Linked DNA regions of Homo sapiens: regions 2 and 3 are each linked to region 1. The links are contacts of gene promoters, found by promoter capture Hi-C in blood cells and fetal thymus (Javierre and others, 2016). All regions are on one chromosome and are shown on one strand. Each heading gives the region's core, a stretch centred on a gene start or on the middle of the fragment in contact. The rest is flanking DNA. Distances are from core to core; before and after follow the strand shown. Region 1 holds the start of SPAG9 (sperm associated antigen 9). Region 2 has its middle 34 kb from the start of TOB1-AS1. Region 3 overlaps UTP18 (UTP18 small subunit processome component).

Region 1 (2,520 bases), core at 15-2,514:
TCCCCTTAAACCTATGTTTATCCTGCCTTTCCTCCCCCTTTTCTTAAACGAGTCGGGACGGAGAGCTGAGTCACCTGAGACACAGAGAAGGGACTTTTGAGAGTGTCTTCCGTCCCATTTGCGGACGTTAGATGAGCACACCGGGATCCTTGACTCAGCCCGCTCTAGGCGTGGGCGTTGTGTCATTCCCCACACGTGACACTCTCCCAGGCGGCAGAAACCTCACTTGTCATGGGACTTATTCACTCCAGTGACTCCACCCCTTACCTCCTCTGTTCCCCAACCTCCCACTTACCCTTTCCGCCCCACTTCAAGACTTGAGGAGAGGAGGGTGGCTGGAGCCTGGAAATGTCCCCGTCCCAAGTTGGCCAGAAGTAGCAGACACACTATGTGGGAAAGTGCCACATGTAACGTTCCAGTTTCACCCTTCTCCAGAATGCTATCACCCTTCCTGTTTATTTTTTAATAACTTGAGATATAATTCACACGCCATATGATTCACTCACTTAACGTGTAAAGTTGAATGTCTTTTAGCATATTTAGAGTTGTGTATTCATCACTATAATACATTTTTTAGAACATTTTTATTATCCCAAAACGAAATCCCATACCTATTAGCAGTCACTCCCATTTCCCCTCATCTCACCCTTGCTCTTCCATAGCACAAAACAGTTCTATTCTATTCGAGACCACCTTTCCACTTGGGCAGACCCTGGTTATGGTTTTTTTTCCCTCCCTTTCTGTTTCCAGTTTTTTTCGGAGCCCGGAATTCTCAATCTGGGTAATTGGTTTGAGTCCCGGCTCAGCCCGTTTCCCGTTGTAGCTGCGTGACCTTGAGAGCAACGCCACTTTCCTGGGCCTAGTTTCTTTGTCTGTGAAACGAGGTCCAAATATCTACCTCTTTACGCCTGTTGTGGGGATGAAGTGAGTAGGTGCTTTGTGAGCTTTAAAAAGCCATAGAAATGCCAGCTAAGTTAACTCGTCACTCTTCCCGAACCCCTCCCTTTCCCCTGGGACCCGCCCCGCGAATCCCGCTGTGGATGGATACTTCTCCCCACCCGCCGACCGCAGTCTTTCCCATTGGCGCCCGCACCGTCTTCGCGGCGCCGGGTGTTGACGCCATGGCTTCCTCCGCCAGCGCCCGAAGACGCTTGGCCCCGCCCCCGGCCGCGCCTGGCCTCCCGCGGCGCCCCGCCCATCGGGCCGACGCGGCGCCGGCCCCGCCCCGCGGATGACGTGTGGCGCGCGCGGCCGGGCCGCCCCGGCAGTTGGTGCAGCGGCGGTTGGGGTGAGAGCGCCTACGCCACCCCTCCCCTCCTCCGGCCCCGGCCCCCACCCCGCCGGGCCCAGCCCCAGCCCCGGCCCGGGCTCCAGCCCTAGTACCCGTCCCAGCCCGAGTCGGGTCCGTCCCGTGCGGGCAGGTGCCGCCCCTCTGCCGGCGACGCCCCGGGCCGCCCGCCCGTCCGCTTGCCACCATGGAGCTGGAGGACGGTGTGGTGTATCAGGAGGAGCCCGGCGGCTCCGGGGCCGTGATGTCGGAGCGGGTGTCCGGCCTGGCCGGCTCCATCTACCGCGAGTTCGAGCGGCTTATCGGGCGCTATGACGAGGAGGTGGTCAAAGAGCTGATGCCGCTGGTGGTGGCTGTGCTGGAGAACCTGGACTCGGTGTTCGCGCAGGACCAGGAGCACCAGGTGGAGCTGGAGCTGCTGCGGGACGACAACGAGCAGCTCATCACCCAGTACGAGCGGGAGAAGGCGCTGCGCAAGCACGCTGAGGAGGTGAGGCCGGCGGCAGGGCGGGGGCCGCGGGATCCGTCTCCGGGGGCGGCCGGGGCGGGGTCGCGGCCCGGTCGGGGACTAGAGGCGCGACGGGCCTCCTGGAGGGCGGGCCTGAGGCCGATGCCCCCTGGGACCGATCCCGGCGGCCTCCAGGTACCCCGGGAGCCAGGCCGGCGTTGGAAGCCGAGGCCGGCTACTGAGTGTCCTGGGAAGGGAGCGAGATGGAGGAGGCAGGGCCCGGGGAGGAAGCGGCAGCCTGGCCTGAGGACACCTGGGGTTGGCCAAGGGCGGAGATTGTTGGGTGTCTGGTTGCTTCTTGTTGAGGGAAGTTTCCGACCACCGTGGGATAGTCAGATGGCGGTTCAAAGTTTTACCCTTGGGGAGGGGGACACTTCTGCCCTGGATATGTAACTTCCGCTAGTTCCAGTACCTTTCCAGGGGGTTGCCTTGCTTTGGGAAGTTAGAGATCTCCCTCTTTCGGTCAGTTTCTTCTTGACGTTTTAATCTTGTTGAGAAAGACGTCTTATTTTATGTTCTATGTGCCTTGGTTGACACTTTGTCAACTTTTAGATGTTGTGTGGCAGTACTCAATAAATATATAAACAATTTCGTTGGTATCCCAAACCAAAGCATTCCTCCGTATCAGGTTGTAACCTTGGACAGTTCCCTTCAAAAACCCTCCGTTTATTTATAAAAAGGATTGGGGGGCGGGGTTGGGAAGATGTAGGTGACAGTTGGCAAC
Region 2 (2,520 bases), core at 9-2,508, 220 kb after region 1:
GATGATAAGCCTGTGACATTGCCCCAGTCTGAGCTATCAAAACAATATTTAATCCTGGATTAAATATTGTTGTTACTGCTATTTATTTTATTCAAAGATTGAAAAATAGCTGTGAGGTGCTGAATTTGATACAGGCAGGAAGTCTTGTTAACTAACCCTTATTCCAAGTTGGCTTAAGCCAAACCTGTGCTGTCCAATATGGTAGCCACTAGCCAGATGTGGCTATTTGAATTTAAATTACTTAAGTTAAAATTCAATACCATGAATTTAGTTCCTTCACTGCAATAGTCATATTTGAAATGCTCAATCGCCACATGTTGTTAGTGGCTACCATATTGGACATGGCAGATATGGGACATTTCCATCGCCACGTAAAGTTTTATTGGAGAGTGTTGGTTTCAACACTTAGCCACATATACAGCAGCAGCTTTATCACATAGAACATTTAGAACCTTATCACCTAGAACATCTATATATGGGCCTTATCTGGGATAGACCTTAGAGAAAAAAAATTCAGAGATACGATCCCTGTCCAAAATGCATCTGCAAATCCAGAATGACACTGACACACAGGATTTAAGAGAGTAGAGGACCAATTTCAGACCAAGCAATGATGGACGTGTAAGGGCAAGAGAGAGACACAAATTCAAAGAGAAGGAAACTGCATGTGCAAAGGCAAGAGATGTGAGGGGCTGGCTGTTTGGGGTTGTCCTGGAGTGCTGTAACAAGGAGATATTTGTACTTTAGGATGGTTACTTTGGAGACAGTGAGAGGGCCATGGGAGACCAGGAGGACCAAGGAATAATCCAGAGGGAAACTGAGTTGTCCTTGAACTAAAGCCTGGGCAGTAGGGGTGGAGAGAAGCAGTCAGATCTGAGAGACCTTGGGTCCAGCCTGGATGGGGTAGGTGGGGAGGAGCATGCACTATACCTGGATGGTTCAAGGAAGAGCTGGGACATCTGGGATCAATTGAATGCTGTGGGCTCTAAATTAAAAAGGCTCCACCAGGAAATACCCCAAATGGCTGGTTTCTAGAAGATCAAGGTTGCCAACGCTGACTCCTTCCAAATCATGAAGTATGAGGTTCTGTGCGACTTCAGCCTTCCCTTTGAGTCAATGAGGCAACAAACCTATTGCTGGAAAATGGCGTCCTCCAGGGAGGGTGTCGTGGGGGGCCCCGGGCTCAGTATAGCACAGAATGCACAGCCCTTGGTTGTCCAAACTCTCCACTTGACTTTATTTATAACCCTAATTACACCCTCCAGGAAGAACAGTTGCTGATCAACCCAGTTACAAATTAAAGTTAATAAAATGAAGACAGCAATGAATGGCTGCTGCCCAAGCTGCCAAGGGCTCCGATCAACCCCAAAAGGAGACTGCGGTGCTCCCAGGACTCCAGCCACCAGTGTCCTCATTCACATGCTTGCCGTGGAACCCCCCCCTCCCCTCCCAGCTCGCCTCCCTCCCCTCAGTGGCTCAGTCCACCTGTTGTCATCTCCCATCAGGGATCATCAGGCTTCAGGTTCTCCAGGTTCAGAAACTCATGCCATACCCAGTTGGTCCCCAACCCAGCCTTCTCCCGCCACTACTGCCTCCCCAAGCGGTCACATCAGTTGTCGGTGCCACTGTGTGAAATGAAGCTGCTGTGAGCAGAGCTGTAAGAATCCAAGGACAGGAAACAGGGCCTTCACCTCTTTACTCCTCTCCAGCTCTCTTTTTTCTCTTTGCAGCTCCCTTTCTTATTCATTTCCTGTTATCTTTTTCTCTACCCATCTCCCTCACCCTGTGGCTGACCTTGTCCACATGCCCTGAATGTCCTGAGAGGGGCCCTGAATTCCACCGGTGTCCCAGATGGTCGAGCGGCACTGGCTGCTTCGTTCAGAAGCACGGGCAGCTTCAACGCAGCCTCCAGATTCTGCTGACCCTGTCCATTCCTTTTTCTTTCTAAAGAGAGGAAACTGGAGAGGGAGAGTGGGGGACAATCCTCTCCTCACAGGCCCTGCTCTCTGTGTACTTGGCCCCTCGCTCTACCTCCCTCCGTCTCCTGCAGCTTGCCTCCTGCAGAAACAATTACAGATAGTCAATCTTCATGCCTTGCAATCCACAGCACACCCAGATGAACTGATGCGGGTTATCTGGGAGGATGGAAAAGGATGTGATGACTGGGCCACTTCTCTGCAGCATGTAGAAACCAGTGCACTGGTTAGAGGGCTACTTCTGACCCTCTTTGCCAGCCCCTATAACCCGAGTACCATGCGCATACCAGCCATCAGAGAAAACAGCGAGTTCCCTGGGGTTTAGGATAATCATCCCTGGATATTCTGGCTTGTTCTTGTCTCATATCTGCCCAGCTTTAAACTCTTGGTTCTTGGTTGAGCACGGTGGCTCATGCCTCTGATCCCAGCACTCTGGGAGGCGGAGCTGGGAGGATCGCTTGAGCCCAGGAATTCAAGACCAGCCTGGGCAACGTAGGGAGACTCTGTCTCTACAAAAAAATTTAAAAACTAGCTGAGTGTGGTG
Region 3 (2,520 bases), core at 13-2,512, 150 kb before region 1:
GAGCCAGAAATGTAGAATATTTGAAAAAGAAATTCTAGAGCTGAAAAATACGTAATTAAAAGTAAGCCCCCAATAGGCCAGGCATGGTGGCTCATATCTGTAATTCCAGTACTTTGGGAGGCCGAGGCAAGTGGATCACTTGAGGTCAGGAGTTCGAGACCAGCCTGACCAAAATGGTGAAACCCCGTGTCTACTAAAAATACAAAAATTAGCCAGGCATGGTAGTGCACACCTGTAATCCCAGCTACTTGGGTGGCTGAGGCAGGAGAATCATTTGAACTCAGGAGGCAGAGGTCGCAGTGAGTGGAGGTAGTGCCACTGCACTCCAGCCTACACGACAGAGCAAGACTAACTCAAAAAATAATAACAAATAAAATTAAATTAAGCCTCCAATAGATGTTTTTAACAGTACATCAAAATTAGCTGTAGAGAGAATTTGTGGTCTAGAAAACGAATCAGAAAAATATACCCAGACTGAAGTACAGAAAGAAAAAGGATAAAAAACACTGAATACCAATGTGGGCAACATAATAAGATCCTGTCACTACAAAAAAAAATTTTTTTTTTCATTAGCTGGGCATGGTGGCACATGCCTGTAGTCCTAGCTACTCCAGAGGCTGAGGTGGGAGGATTGCTTGAACCCAGGAGGTCGAGACTACAGTGAGCCAAGATCACGTCACTGCACTCCAGACTGGGCGATAGAGTGAGACCCTGTCTCAAAAAAAAACCAAACCAAAAAATAGGTGGAAGACATTTAATATACGTATTACTAATAATCTAGAAAGGAAGACTGGAACAGAAACAATACTTGAAGACAGGTGAGAATTTCCAAAACTTACAGAAGACATCAAGCCAGTTCAAAAGTACTATGAAGTCTAAGCAAAATACAAAGCAAGCTAAAATGATAGGGAGAGGGGATAAACAAAGAGCAACACAATACAACAATTCATAATATTAATGAATTGCTGTTGATTTTTGGAGCTGTGGTTATGTTCAAAAGGGAGAATTTTCTTATAACGAAACTCAGTAAATATTTACAGATAAAAATAACACACTGGAGATAATCATGAAGCTGAGTGCTAGTCACCATTCTGTCAACAATAAGTATACCTTCAACAAGTCACTATCTCTTTGAACCTCTCTCATGTACAAAATGAATGTGTTAGACAAGCATATCCCATACTGTAGCAGACTAATTGCTGACTTAATCCACTTCCTTTTTCTCCTGTGCACAAAGCCAAACTACACTTCCTAGGATCCTCTCAGCTAGTGTGGCCTTATGACTGAGTTCCAGCCAACAAAATGTAGGCAAAAGTATCCTGTACCATTTCCAGGAAAGGCCAATAAAAATCCCCTCTTTCTCCTCCTATAAGCCAAGTGGATGTCAACATCTTAGGCAACTCTGGAAGAACCAACCTGAAGATGACAGAACTTCTATAAACTTGGGTCCCTAAAGTAAACCATCACCTTCCTACCACCCCAATTTTATGTGCTGAAAAAACCAACTTCAATTGGATTATGCCACTGGGATCTGTGGGATTTTGTTTCAACAGCTAGCATAACCATACCCAAAATTACAGGAATCTAAAATGTTGTGGGGTTCTATAAATGCAGCATTCTGAAATGGATAATAAAATTATGTTTCATCCAGGAGGGCAAACTGGTGATCTAGGGTCTAGAAGTACGCCACCAAAAAAATGGTCAAAATAACGAGGGATGTTTAACATATTAAAAAACAAACATGGAAAGAGGCTTCCCAAATGAGAGAAAAAGAAGATAATCTATATGTTTCAAACCGTAGGAGTAGAGACTTGTTGGGACATACATTTCAAAATAGGAAAAACTGTCTAACAGTTCTTAAAGAAAAGGGAAGAAGGGGAAAAAACAGTTTAGTAAAAAGTACATTATTTAGGCCAGGCACAGTGGCTCATGCCTGTAATCCCAACACTTTGGAAGGCCAAGAGTTCAAGACCAGCCTGGCCAACACGGTGAAACCCCGATTCTACTAAAAATACAAAAATTAGCCAGGTGTAATGGCGCACACCTGTAACCCCAGCTACTCAGGTGGCTGAGACAAAACAATCACTGGAACCCGGGAGGCAGAGGTTGTAGTGAGCTGAGATTGCCCCACTGCACTCCAGCCCTGGGTGACAGAGTGAGATTCTGACACTGACACACACACACACACACACACACACACACAATACATTATTTGATATATTTAAGCAGAGGATAATGTAGAAAAGATTACTGCAGTGGATAAAGTCAGGCCACATCACTAAGATTCCTTCAACCTCTAAAAGCAAATGGCTAGAAACAAAGACGGTCAATTTCTACTTAGTAACAGATTGTCTTTTCTAATAGAATTATATAAAACACTGGCTCTTTGTATGGACTCCCTGCATTTACGTACCATGAGGACTAACAGGGTAGGAAGAAAGGGGACAAAGGAGGTGGTCATAATCAAACTGAAGCTCTACGGACATGAAGGATGCTAAGGAAGGAGCTCCCACATGATGT

The links. Contacts are between HindIII fragments. The CHiCAGO score rates a contact against its expected background, and 5 or more counts as called.
Region 2: a contact is called between a fragment that was not itself captured here and the fragment with the promoter of SPAG9 in region 1, in 3 of 17 cell types (naive CD8 T cells, neutrophils and M0 macrophages). The highest score is 6.6, in naive CD8 T cells.
Region 3: a fragment that was not itself captured here is called in contact with the fragment with the promoter of SPAG9 in region 1 in 1 of 17 cell types (erythroblasts); the score reaches 5.7 in erythroblasts.

The regions. Positions count from the first base shown.
Region 1 is chr17:51,119,612-51,122,131 of GRCh38, reverse strand. It overlaps SPAG9 (sperm associated antigen 9), which reads left to right and starts at 1,264. Exons shown (of 30, transcript NM_001130528.3): 1 at 1,264-1,778. The coding sequence starts at 1,476. RefSeq lists enhancers at 1-172, 782-1,011, 528-1,342, 1,632-1,751 and silencers at 1,152-1,531, 1,782-1,861, 1,882-2,011. The HindIII fragment of the contact is 3,961 bases long and covers 1-2,520 here.
Region 2 is chr17:50,899,655-50,902,174 of GRCh38, reverse strand. No RefSeq gene overlaps it. Among named protein-coding and RNA genes, the nearest start is that of TOB1-AS1, 34 kb to the right of the region's middle. The HindIII fragment of the contact is 4,004 bases long and covers 1-2,520 here.
Region 3 is chr17:51,269,523-51,272,042 of GRCh38, reverse strand. All of the region lies in intron 4 of UTP18 (UTP18 small subunit processome component), which reads right to left. Among named protein-coding and RNA genes, the nearest start is that of UTP18, 10 kb to the right of the region's middle. The HindIII fragment of the contact is 4,003 bases long and covers 1-2,520 here.